Regions from separate parts of the Homo sapiens genome. Here region 2 is linked to region 1. The links are contacts of gene promoters, found by promoter capture Hi-C in human tissues and cell types (Jung and others, 2019). All regions are on one chromosome and are shown on one strand. The core of a region is centred on a gene start or on the middle of the fragment in contact, and the rest is flanking DNA. Distances in the headings are between cores, read along the strand shown. Region 1 holds the start of EFNA5 (ephrin A5). Region 2 has its middle 1.1 Mb from the start of LINC01950.

What was found. The method cuts DNA at HindIII sites, captures the fragments that hold promoters and counts their contacts. A contact is called where the count stands out against the background at its distance.
Region 2: a contact is called between a fragment that was not itself captured here and the fragment with the promoter of EFNA5 in region 1, in 1 of the 25 tissues and cell types used here (IMR-90 fibroblasts).

What each region holds. Positions count from the first base shown.
Region 1 is chr5:107,666,152-107,672,366 of GRCh38, reverse strand. It overlaps EFNA5 (ephrin A5), which reads left to right and starts at 1,430. Exons shown (of 5, transcript NM_001962.3): 1 at 1,430-1,878. The coding sequence starts at 1,754. RefSeq lists enhancers at 818-957, 1,668-1,797, 2,198-2,277 and silencers at 1,348-1,397, 1,968-2,037. The HindIII fragment of the contact is 6,025 bases long and covers 1-2,994 here.
Region 2 is chr5:105,918,302-105,923,641 of GRCh38, reverse strand. It overlaps the pseudogene RNA5SP189. Among named protein-coding and RNA genes, the nearest start is that of LINC01950, 1.1 Mb to the left of the region's middle. The HindIII fragment of the contact is 3,072 bases long and covers 451-3,522 here.

The DNA.
Region 1 (6,215 bases), core at 181-2,680:
GGAGCCCCATCCCCCCGCCCACGTCCACGTTCACGCGTGCGGCCTCGCGCTCTGCTGAGGCTGCTGCCACTGGGTCGCCGCCGCTGTCGGCTTTCCACGCAAGTCATTAACGAGGGGGCGTGCCCGAGGAGATTTTTTTTCCCATAAAGCATTTTTTCTCTCGCTCTCTTTTTTTCCCCCTCTTTTGCAAAACTGACTTTTACAAAACCCTTTCCACTTCTTGCCAGTCGTTTCAATTCCTCCTGGGCTGCTCGTGCTGCTGCTGCTGCACTCAAGTTTATTTATTTTCCCGCCTGGGTAGGGGTTTTAGGATTCGGTTTGTGGTTTTCACCTCTGTTGCTGCTGTGCCTAAGGAGGGAAAGAGGAGCAGCTGCGGGAGGATCGGGAAGGTTTTCTGATGTAGTCATCGGGGAGGTGCCACTCGCTCGTGCGCTTTTTTTTTTTCCTCTTTTCCCATTTCAAACTGATTGATGCATCTCTACAAGTTGCTAGGCTTGGACCCGCTGGAGTCGCAGGGACACTTCTGAGAGCTCACCCCGGGCTCTTGGCACCGCGTGTGGGGGCTCAGTCTCCCTCTCGGAAGGCGATCGGAGACTGACATCGGCCCATCCAGGAGTTGGAGGGATCCATTTGAAAGTGATTGTTTCCCCTCCCGCTCTCCAGCCGAACAGTTGGGTTGGCGTCGTCTTGCAGGTTTAGGAATCCCAGCTCTGCCAGGCCGGCTGGTCTTAACCTCTGCTCTTCATTCACTGTGGTGCACCCACACCCAGCCAAGGAAAGCACGCGCGAGAAATCCCCGAGGCTCGGCCAGCCCCCGGGGTGCCCTCTTCCGCTACCGCCGCGTTCCGACTCTGCTGGGGGACCTGCCGGAAGACGCGAAGAGCCAAACTTTTCTTTGAGGTTTTCGAGGCAAGACCGCTTCGAAAGCCGGCGCAGCTGCCGCTTAACCAGTTCCAGGACACCGACAAGGCTGGGTTGCGGCTCCGGATCCCCACCCTTCTCGGCGCACCGCCCGGTACCGCAGCACTTACGACTCCTCTGAGATTTCTGGGGGTCGCCCCGCTAAGGCACAGAGGAGGCTGAGGAAAGGGGTTCTCAGACTCCCGGGACCACAAGCGCGAAGCCCTCTATCAGCACGTCGCCCTTCTCCTGCAGTTTCCCACCGGCCGCCAAAGTAACTTGGAGCGAAGCGTGGCGCAGTGCGAGGGCCCCGGGCGGTGGCGGAGCCGTGCGTAGCCTGCTGCGCCGACGCTGAGCCGGGCCCGGCGGGCCGGTGTATGTCTCCCCGCGGCTGCGGCGCGCAACTCCCGGTGACTGTGCAGCGCGCGCCGCCGCCTGCCCCGACCCGCGCTGCAGCCGCCCGGCCCGGCGCGCACCTCCCTCTCCCGGGGTGACCGGCCTGCCGCCGCCGCCCGAGACACAGCTTGGCACCTCTTCCCCCGCCCTCGCCGCCGCCACCACACACACGCACGCTTCTCTCCATCTTGTGATTCCTTTTTCCTCCTGAACCCTCCAGTGGGGGTGCGAGTTTGTCTTTATCACCCCCCATCCCACCGCCTTCTTTTCTTCTCGCTCTCCTACCCCTCCCCAGCTTGGTGGGCGCCTCTTTCCTTTCTCGCCCACTTTCATTTTTATTTATTCATATTTATTTGGCGCCCGCTCTCTCTCTGTCCCTTTGCCTGCCTCCCTCCCTCCGGATCCCCGCTCTCTCCCCGGAGTGGCGCGTCGGGGGCTCCGCCGCTGGCCAGGCGTGATGTTGCACGTGGAGATGTTGACGCTGGTGTTTCTGGTGCTCTGGATGTGTGTGTTCAGCCAGGACCCGGGCTCCAAGGCCGTCGCCGACCGCTACGCTGTCTACTGGAACAGCAGCAACCCCAGGTAAGCCGATAACAGGCGGAGAGCCAGGGCTACCCGGGCCTCGGGGCCCTGCGGAAGGAGCGGCGGCGGGGATCGGCGCGCACCAACCGCTGGCGGCGCGCACCCTCGGAGCCTGCGTCGCCCGGGCGCTGATGGCTTGAGGCGTCGGCGGGAAGCGCTCGCGTCGCGCCCCTCTTTGTTAAGCCGCCGCGGAAAGGCCAGGTACCCCTGGGAGTCCCCGGGGCTGCCTAGACCAACTGCTTCTGCGGGGCGCCGGGAGACTCGGAAAAGGGCGGGAGCCGGGGAGTAGGGACTTCTCTGCTTCCCAGCCCCGGCATCTGGCTGGCATCCGGTTCCCGGCGCGGGGAGCCCCCAGTGTGCGCAGCCGGGAGCTCCTTCCTGGAGCGTGGGTCCGCAGGGACTGCGGAGAGAACCCGCCAAACATCCCCCAAAGTTTTTTTTTTTTTTTTTTTTTTTTTAATTTTAATTTTCCCTTCTCTTTTCCCGGTGCGCGCAGAGAGAGCGCACGGGCTGGGGGAAGTGAGGGGGGCTGGGAAGCGGAAGCTTTAGGTTTTTATTTTCCTCTTCAACTGCGAGGAAATCATTCGGCCCCTGAGTCAGTCTGGGCCCGGCGCGCCTGGCAGTGGAGAGGATTCTCCCATCTTCTCCATCCCTCCACCCACCCCAGTGGGTTCAAGGTGCCAGAAAGTTTGATCTAATGCCGGGTTACGTCATGTGTGCAGAACAAGCTGCCAGAGTTGGCCGAGCCAGGAGGTGGGAGCCCTTCGCCCGCGGCCTGGCGATGTGCTGCCGGAGGAACGCGCGCGATTACCTGGAACCGATTTGTAGGCGTCCCGAAGCCCGCCGGGTATGCGGGAGACTAGAGGTGGGCGCCGGGGGCGGTCCTAGTGCGCGTGCTGGACACCGGCCAGTCGCAGACGTCCCGTGTTTTCGGACCCTGGAAGTGGAGTGGGGAGGTTATCCAGAGTGCCCGGCGGGGTCCTCCGGGTCTGGAGCAGTTCCGAACCTTTATTGCTTCCCGGCCTGTGCACAGAAGTCGGCCCCGCTAGGCCCATACCGCACTGCTTTCTCTGGGACAGAGGCTAGCTTCCAGCTGTGTGCCGGTCTCGGTGCCCTCCTAGGTGCTATTTATTAATAGTACCGATTGCATCTAAAGTCACAGGTTTTTCACTGGGCTGGAGTGGAAGTTGGGAAGAGAGAGGCGGGAGGCCGAGGGGTTAGCCTAAGAGTTGGTGCGCGCCCCGGGCTCCAGGAGAGAGGGTATCGGTGGGCGCCTCCAGTTTTTTCTATCTCCTGCGGGCCCTCTCCGCCTGCCTCCAGCCTCCCCTCAGCATGCAGGCAAGAGAGGGATTCCCTGCTTGAATAATGTCAGCGCAGATGAAGATGGGAAGATTTCCCCACAAGCAGTCCGCCGGTTACAGAACCAGGAGGGAGTTCCCCCTATCCCGCTAGTCCAAGATAGTCTTACTCAGGTAGCCGCCCAAGTCCTAAATGAACCGCTGAACAGGAGTGGAGATATTCCTGAAAGTTTGGTTCAAAAAACAAGAGTCTCCTGGAGGTGGGTGGTGGAATGGGAAGCGATTTCTTCTTTGACATGCCACTTACCACTATTAGGAAAAGAGAAAAAGAAGCCATCCTGCCAGAGGAGAGATGCCTTTTATTAAAGCTGACAAGACAAATAGAGCAAGCTTTCCAGTTGTGATGGTGTTAAAAGCCAGTCTCATTATGTTGGTTAGTTTTTTTTCCCCGTTTGTGCTTTATTAGGCAGCATATACGAAGCAGAAATTTGTATCTCTGAACTTTAGCACCTTATTAAATAAAGCAACACTGAAATAGTTTCTTTGAATTTGGGATATCTTGCTCTCGGTTGTCTTTTCTTTCCCACACCAAGCTCCACATTGTGATCTTTTTCTCATGGCATTCATTTATTTGGATACTTGGGTGTTCCAGTCTTCCTGGGTTAAAACGGAAAGAACCAGCAACACCCCTACTTTAACCCCCCTTCTTAACCTGTCAAGCTAGTCTGAGTTAGTTTGAGGACATTTTATCTTAGGTTATCTCTGTTTTGTGCTTTTGATACTGTTGTTTGGTTTGAGATTAGCACATTGATTTTTGTCACAGGTCATGTTTTTTAATAGATCTGCCCTGCCTGCAGAAAACTCTTCTGCTCAGGATGCCATGGAGGCTTTGAACCTGCCCAGACAAAGTTAATCTGCAGAATTTTAAAATACCAAGAGTATTTCTAAATCGGTATTCTAACTTCAGGTTTGTAGAATTACCTTTCTATTTGATCATTATCAGTTTGATAATGGCCAAAAGAAAGAATGATGTACCCCTCTTAACCCCAAGAGATACAGCCCTAACACTTATTATTCTTAGGAATTTATGGACACATTTATCTTGGTATGTTATCACAGTTAAAAACTTACTTTAAAAACAATATTTTAAAAGTAGGCAGTTTTATCTCTGAAGTGTTGAATAAGATGTTGCTCTTTTGATGCATTAAGAAAAGTCAACTTGGATATAAGAGGCCACATGCCAAATAAGTATTTTAAAAATAAAAACTAACAGTTTTCCACAAACAATAGTAAGAAAATATTTCAGAAAATTTCCACGGGTTTAGTAAATTTTATAAATTCACTGTTGTGCAATTCCTTTTCCTGTATGTTATTTCATAAAGTAAGCTAGCCATGCTTTGTGTCTTTATATAGAACCTATCTGTTAAAATTTTGCTAAACTAGTAAGACTTCAATCTTTTGAAAAAAGAATAGAGGACTTTAATTGCAACTTAAATAATTTTTTTTATTTTTCCCTCAGAATATAATATGTTCAGTGGGCACGTTAAACTGATGATAATGTACACTGTGTCTAAACGAAGTAAATCTACTTTAGCTTATACTAACAGATTCAATTTGAAATTATGTTTAGGTAAAATCAGAATTAAATGTATCTTGATCACAGGGATTAAGTACAGTATCTTACTGTGTAACTTGTGTCACTTGTGTATCTGGTAGGAGTTTATCTTCTACATGGAGTTTCATTACTGCCTCTCCATTGATAAATGAGCATCTATAGATGTAGTTTCACGGGAAAAAATATTAAATTTATTTGCTGTCAGAATAGTTTTACTGTTACAATCTATGTACCCAGGTATTCACTTCTGAGAAGTGGATACTGAGTTTTCAAATGCTGATAACTTTTAGTTGGTAGTATTTATTGGATAGGGGACCAAACTGATTTTTTTATGTGTTGAATTGGCACAAATTTGTGAAATAGCCACTCAGAACTATCAGTTTGAATAGAAATATATGATAACATTTGCCTAAATAGATCTTCTATATTTCCAAAATTTGAAAACTTGTATAAGTTTTACCTAAAAGTGTAAATAATCAAATCATCCTTTTAATATTATTCTGAATTCTAAACTGGAATGTCACCAAGTAACTTTGAGTAATGAAAATCCACATCAAGAAGAATATAACTATTTGTCCTTAATTTCTTTAAGAATGTAAAAAGCTTTTAAATAAAGTTAAAAAGACTTCCAGTAATAAAAGTTTATTTACATTCTCCTTTAGTAGCTATGCTTATAAAGAGAGTCATAATACTAAGAACATGCCTCTTCATCTGAAGTATGCCATAAGCAGTTTGGTGCTTCTAATAAGAATATACTTTTAAACATCATGTGCGTATTCTAAGTTCTTCTTGGATTATTTTGACTATTTGCTGAAATGATATTAGGGTAATTAAACATATCTCCTACTGGTTGGCATTATTGATGCAATAGTCAAATAATACAGCAGCAAATATGACCAACACACTTTTAGGAATACCAGTCGTCCTCAACCTGGTGCTTTGCTTCTGTTAAGGTTTGAGTATCATCAATTTAAAAGGTTATACTCTTAAGAGGAAAATATCTGTGTAAGTCATGAAGGATTTACTAAACTTTAACCTAATCATGTTTTCTTTGGACTTTTTCAATTCTTGTAGGGACTTGTATATTAAACATTTCATATTAGAGTAGCAGGTAATTGACACCTTTTAGTTTTGTTAACACGTAATCTTGGAGTTGTGAAAGTAATGTGAATTCTAGGTCAACACTCCCAAGTCCTCTGGCAGTACAGGTCAAATGTATGTGGCTAAGAAGAGAGAAGTAGTAACATTTTTTTTTTCCTAATCATATTCCCTTGAGTATTTTTCTTCTTTCAAAATTTAGTTGCTCCATTTAAAAAAAATCTGAGCCATCATCATTTTGACATATGTATACCAGTATGCCGGCACTGTGACCTTTTCACTGACAAGTAAATGAAATCAGCATGGTTTAAATCTAAGAATTTGTT
Region 2 (5,340 bases), core at 737-3,236, 1.7 Mb after region 1:
TATTTCAGACAGGGTCTTCCTCTGTTCCCTAGGCTGAAGGGCAGTCGTGTGACCATAGCACACTGCAAACCTGAACTCCTGTGCTCAAGCAATCCTCTCACCTTAGCCTTCTGAGTATCTGGGACTACAGGTATGCACCACCACACTTGGCTAATTTTTATATTTTATTTTTGTACAGATGGCACCTTGCTGTATTGCCCAGGTTTCTACATTTTTGTATTTTAAGATTCTCTTGGTTTTTATTTTAACTAAAGCTTTAAATCTTTAGTTTCATTCCAACTGATATTTCAATTTGTCTTATTCTACCAAATAAAAATCAAATTGACATTTAATTTATGTTCCTACAAGATAATCTAAATTCTTCTATCTGTTGGGAAGAGAAAGGTATTGAAGAGGAGCTTCAAAGATTAATTGGCTTTAACTTTAAACACTGCATATATTACATAATAGACACAAATAATAAAACCTATAATTTTAAAATATTACTTTTTAAATTCATACATTTATATTCTGAAAAATATAGACTAGTCTACAGCCATGCCACCTTGAATGCACCTGATCTCATCAGATCTCAGAAGCTAGTTAAGCAGTGATGGGCCTGGTTAGTACTTGGATGGGAAAAATAGAGAACATATATTTAAAAAGCTTATTTAAACTCTCAACAACAAAAAAAGTATTATTATTTTATGGTACGTCCATGTGCCTTACCCCTACAGTAATTATACTGTAGCTCTTTGTGGACATTGAGGTAATTTAAACAACATACAATTTGCCAGTGATAATATGGCTCAGATGATAATATTAATATTTCATTACATCCCCATGATGTGAGTCACTACATGACCTGTTTGGTATGTTTTAGCTTCCTGTAAAAGTGTATACATAGATATATAAGTAGATGATTAATAGATTTTAGGTAGATAGATCTTTAGGCTCCTCCAAATTCCTTCCCTGTGTTAACCACAGAGGTAGAGTTTTCTGATATTCTCTTTATCTTTGTATTTATAGAATTCCATAGTCTAATTATACTATAGCCAGATTCTTCTACACCCAATGCCTTGAAAAAAATGCGAAATGTTATAAATCTTAAAATGCAGATATGGATGCACATTTTTTAAGATTTTGAAAATTTAATGTTATTTCAAATTTATTTCTAATTCTATAATAATGCTAATAACCCACAAAAGTAAGAGATTGACCTTAACAATTCTATTTCTTACATATATGACATTACTCTCCAGATTGACTAGGATATCTATGGTAAGAATTACATTTCAGTTGCTTAAAAGACCAAAAGGCAATGCTCTGTCTAGGCTACATGTGCATCATTAGTCATTTTGAAAGTTGTTGTTAATGTATGTGTCCTTACTCTGGGATCCAACCTGACAGAATGCCCATTATTTCCTGGAAAGAGAGAAAGAAAGGGTGGTAAAGTATGTGCTGTTTTTAATCATCTGTCTGGAAGGGACACATATTATCACTTCTGTGTATGCTCAATTGGATATATCAAGTCACATAACCTACTTCAAGTGAATAATAAAGGTGAATTCTACCATGTGTCTCAGGAAGAGAAAGATTTGTGAATAGCATACATGTCGAAAGCATGATATATTTTATCTTATCTGTTTTACCAATAATTTCATTAAAATGTTTCCATCCCAACATAACCATTCATTATTTTAGATAGCAGTGTTTGCTTTTATAAATATATATACCATAATTTTACAGATTCCTTAGTTGTTGCTCAAAAATTCATTTATATTTTTTCTAAATTATAAGCAATGCTTCTGCATGCTTTCTTTTATATACAACTGTATAAAATCATTTCCTCAGGCTATATAGTTCTAGAAAAATTGCTGAATCAAGAGTATTGCCCAAATTACCCTTCACAGTGAACCAAATCGTAATTCTACTACAAGCAGTGTCAGTTTGTTTACACATTCTTGAAAAATGAGCATTGTATAATTTGTGTTGTCCTTTTCACTTCTGCTTGTAAGGGATGCAATTTGATTTTTTAGTATGTATTTTGTTGCTTACTTGTAAGGTTTAATTTGATTAGCTCTGTTTTAGTAATTTGAATTTCCTCTAATGTAAATTTCTCCAAGTTTAAAAACTAATTTAAACCAGAAATTACAATAAATTATATATTTGTGACATAGCATAGGTAAATGACAACTGCAAGTATTACAAAGTGCAAGTATAGCATGTTTATTATTTTTTAAATTTAAATAAGATTAAATCACAGTAAAGTATTTACTATCAAAAATACTAATTAAAAAGGCAAATTTGAAGTAAAATTCACTTAAAAGTTATTTTGAAAGGTATGAGATACCATCTCACACCAGTCTGAACAGTTACTCTTATCTTTTCTTTCTTTTTTTTTTGAGATGGAGTTTTGTTCTTATTGCCCAGGCTGGAGTGCAATGGCATGATCTTGGCTCACCACAACCTCCACCTCCCAGGTTCAAGCGATTCTCCTGCCTCGGCCTCCTGAGTAGCTGGGATTACGGCCATGAGCCGCCACGCCTGGCTAATTTTTTATTTTTAGTAGAGATGGGGTTTCTTCCATGTTGGTCAGGCTGGTCTTGAACTCCTGACCTCAGGTGATCTACCCGCCTCGGCCTCCCAAAGTGCTGGGATTACAGGCATAAGCCGCTGAGTCCGGCCCAGAACAGCTACTCTTAAAAAGTCAAAAAATAACAGATGTTGGTTGGTGAGGTTACAGAGAAAATGGAAAGCTTATATGCGGTTGGTGAGACTGTAAATTAGTTCACCCCTATAGAAAGCAGTTAGGAGATTTCTCAAAGAACCAAAAATAGAATTACCATTCCACCGAGCAATTGCAGTCTTGAACATACACCCAAGGGAAATTAAATCATTTTACCAAAAAGACCCCTGTATTCACATGTTTATCACAGCATTATTCACAATAGTAAAGACATACAATCATCTTAGGTGCCCATCAGTGGGAGAATTAGATAAAGGAAATGTGGTCTATATACACCACTGAATACTATGCAGCCATAAAAAAGAACGAACTCATGTTTTTGCAGCAATGTGGATGCAGCTGGAAGCCCTTATCCTACACAAATTACCACTGAAACAGAAAACCAAATACTGCATGTTCTCACTTATAAGTGGAAGCTAAATATTGGGTACACATGGACACAAAGATAGGAAAAACAGACAATGGGGACTCCAGAAGGGGAGAGAGAGTAAGGGAGGTAAGAATTGAAAAACTACCAATTTGGTACTATGTTCAATATTTGGCTACCAGATCCAATCTAAGTACAAACCTCTATCCATGTAACAAACCTTCACATGGTACTCCAATTGAGAGAAATCAAGTTGAAGATTTACTATTAAGTGCACTTAAAAATATTGTGAAAGTTTACTGTTTCATCATTTCCATTAAGTTCAAGCTCATTGAAATAACTAAAATTATAACTTTCTTACCTAGATAAGGCTACCTGAGGATATAATAGGATGGGAGATAATAATACAGAGAAAACTATTTTGTTGCATTTTTATAATTGCTTTTGCTTACAATTCACTTATAAAATTTTGTTCTTTTGTATTTTCAACCCTTTTGGGTCTTTTTAAACATATCTCTTTTAAGTAATACATAAATCAATACTGCTTTTTGCTTCCTCCTACAGAGATATTTTGACTTTTAATTTTTAATTTTAATCTATTTACACATATTATGTCACTGATGTATACTGGGCATACTATTTTCTATTTTGTTTTAATTTTTTGTCTTTCTTTGAGTGGCCTTCTATTTGAGTGATTAAGGGGAAATTGTGTCCTTTTTTGATTTTTAAAGGGCAGCATGGTAATAAGGATATCTTCCTCTGTTGTTGGAGTGTTAGGACTGCTATGTGGATAATTATTTCAAACGTCTTAGGTGTCTCAGCCATGGAGAAGGAAAGAGAACAAAAGCAAAAATCATAAAATAATCTATAATTCTTTTACTTATACCATTGTGGCCTGATTTCATGGGTATTGTCAAGATTATTTTCCATTGCATTTGTAACTTTAATCTGAAAATGTCCTGTCTCACAGACAGCTGCCTTCTCTCCTTGAGTCATTTTAGTGTTTTATTCAACAAATACTTTTGAGTACATTATTTGCTGAGACACTGTGGTAGATGTAAAGACAGGAAATCATAATAAAGTTATAGAATCATGTTTTATCCTTTGTGATTCTTGAAAGCATACAATTTCACCATGAAAATTTCATAATTTTATACATTTTATAAAATTGGTTTTCAAAATTATCTTTTCATTCTCAAGCTATGTCAAAGCTTAGATAATTTGCAACTATGCTAAATTTCACAAAGCACACAGTAATTATGGAGTCATTTTGATAGGCACAGTCCACATACTAACAAATGTTAGTTGCTTATAACACGCCTACCCATGACTTTTTACTATACCATCAACATACTCCAGCATCAAATTCACATACTCTACCTTCAAAGATGTGTATGCGTGCATGCATGTTGATATGGTTTGTGTCCCCACCCAACTCTTATCTTGACTTGTAGCTCCCATAATTCCCATGTGTTGTAGAAGAGACCCAGTGGGAGATAACTGAATAATGTGGGTGGTTTCCCCCATACTGTTCTTGTGGTAGTGAATACATCTCGCGAGATCTGATGGTTTTATAAGGGGAAACCCTTTTCACTTGGTTCTCATTTCTCTCTTGCCTGCCACCATGTAAGATGTGCCTTTTGCTTTCTGCCATGATTGTGAGGCCTCCCCAGCGATGTGGTACTGTGAGTCCATTAAACCTCTTTTTCTCTATAAATTACCCAGTCTCAGGTATGTCTTTATTAGCAGTGTAAAAACGGACCAAAACACATGTGGGTGGAACTTTAGAAGTATCCAGGACTGAAGTTTTAATAACTATCTTCTCAAAAATAATACACATGCCACAGATAAAAGTATCACAATTGACCACAAAATGTCTGTATAAAGAAATTTTAAATGGTGGGTATACTGCAAGCCCTTTTCAAAAGGAAAAGAAAACTGCATGAGCAAAGTGCATTTTAATAGGGAATCTACATAATTTTATTCTTTTTTTCTAAAAATTTTGTAAAAAATAAGTGTTTTCACCGTACACACTTTGAGCCCTGTTGATATCACACTTATCATTCATAAAATTTGTTGAAATGTGTTTACATTAAAAAGTACAAAAGTATTCCCTATATTTATAAACATATTTTTAAAACCACACATGTAGATTCATTCTGAAATATGGTGAGCTTAAGTATGTGCAAATTAGTGATTTACTTGCTTTTTATTATCACTATTTTGAGCAGTGCCAAGTGATCAT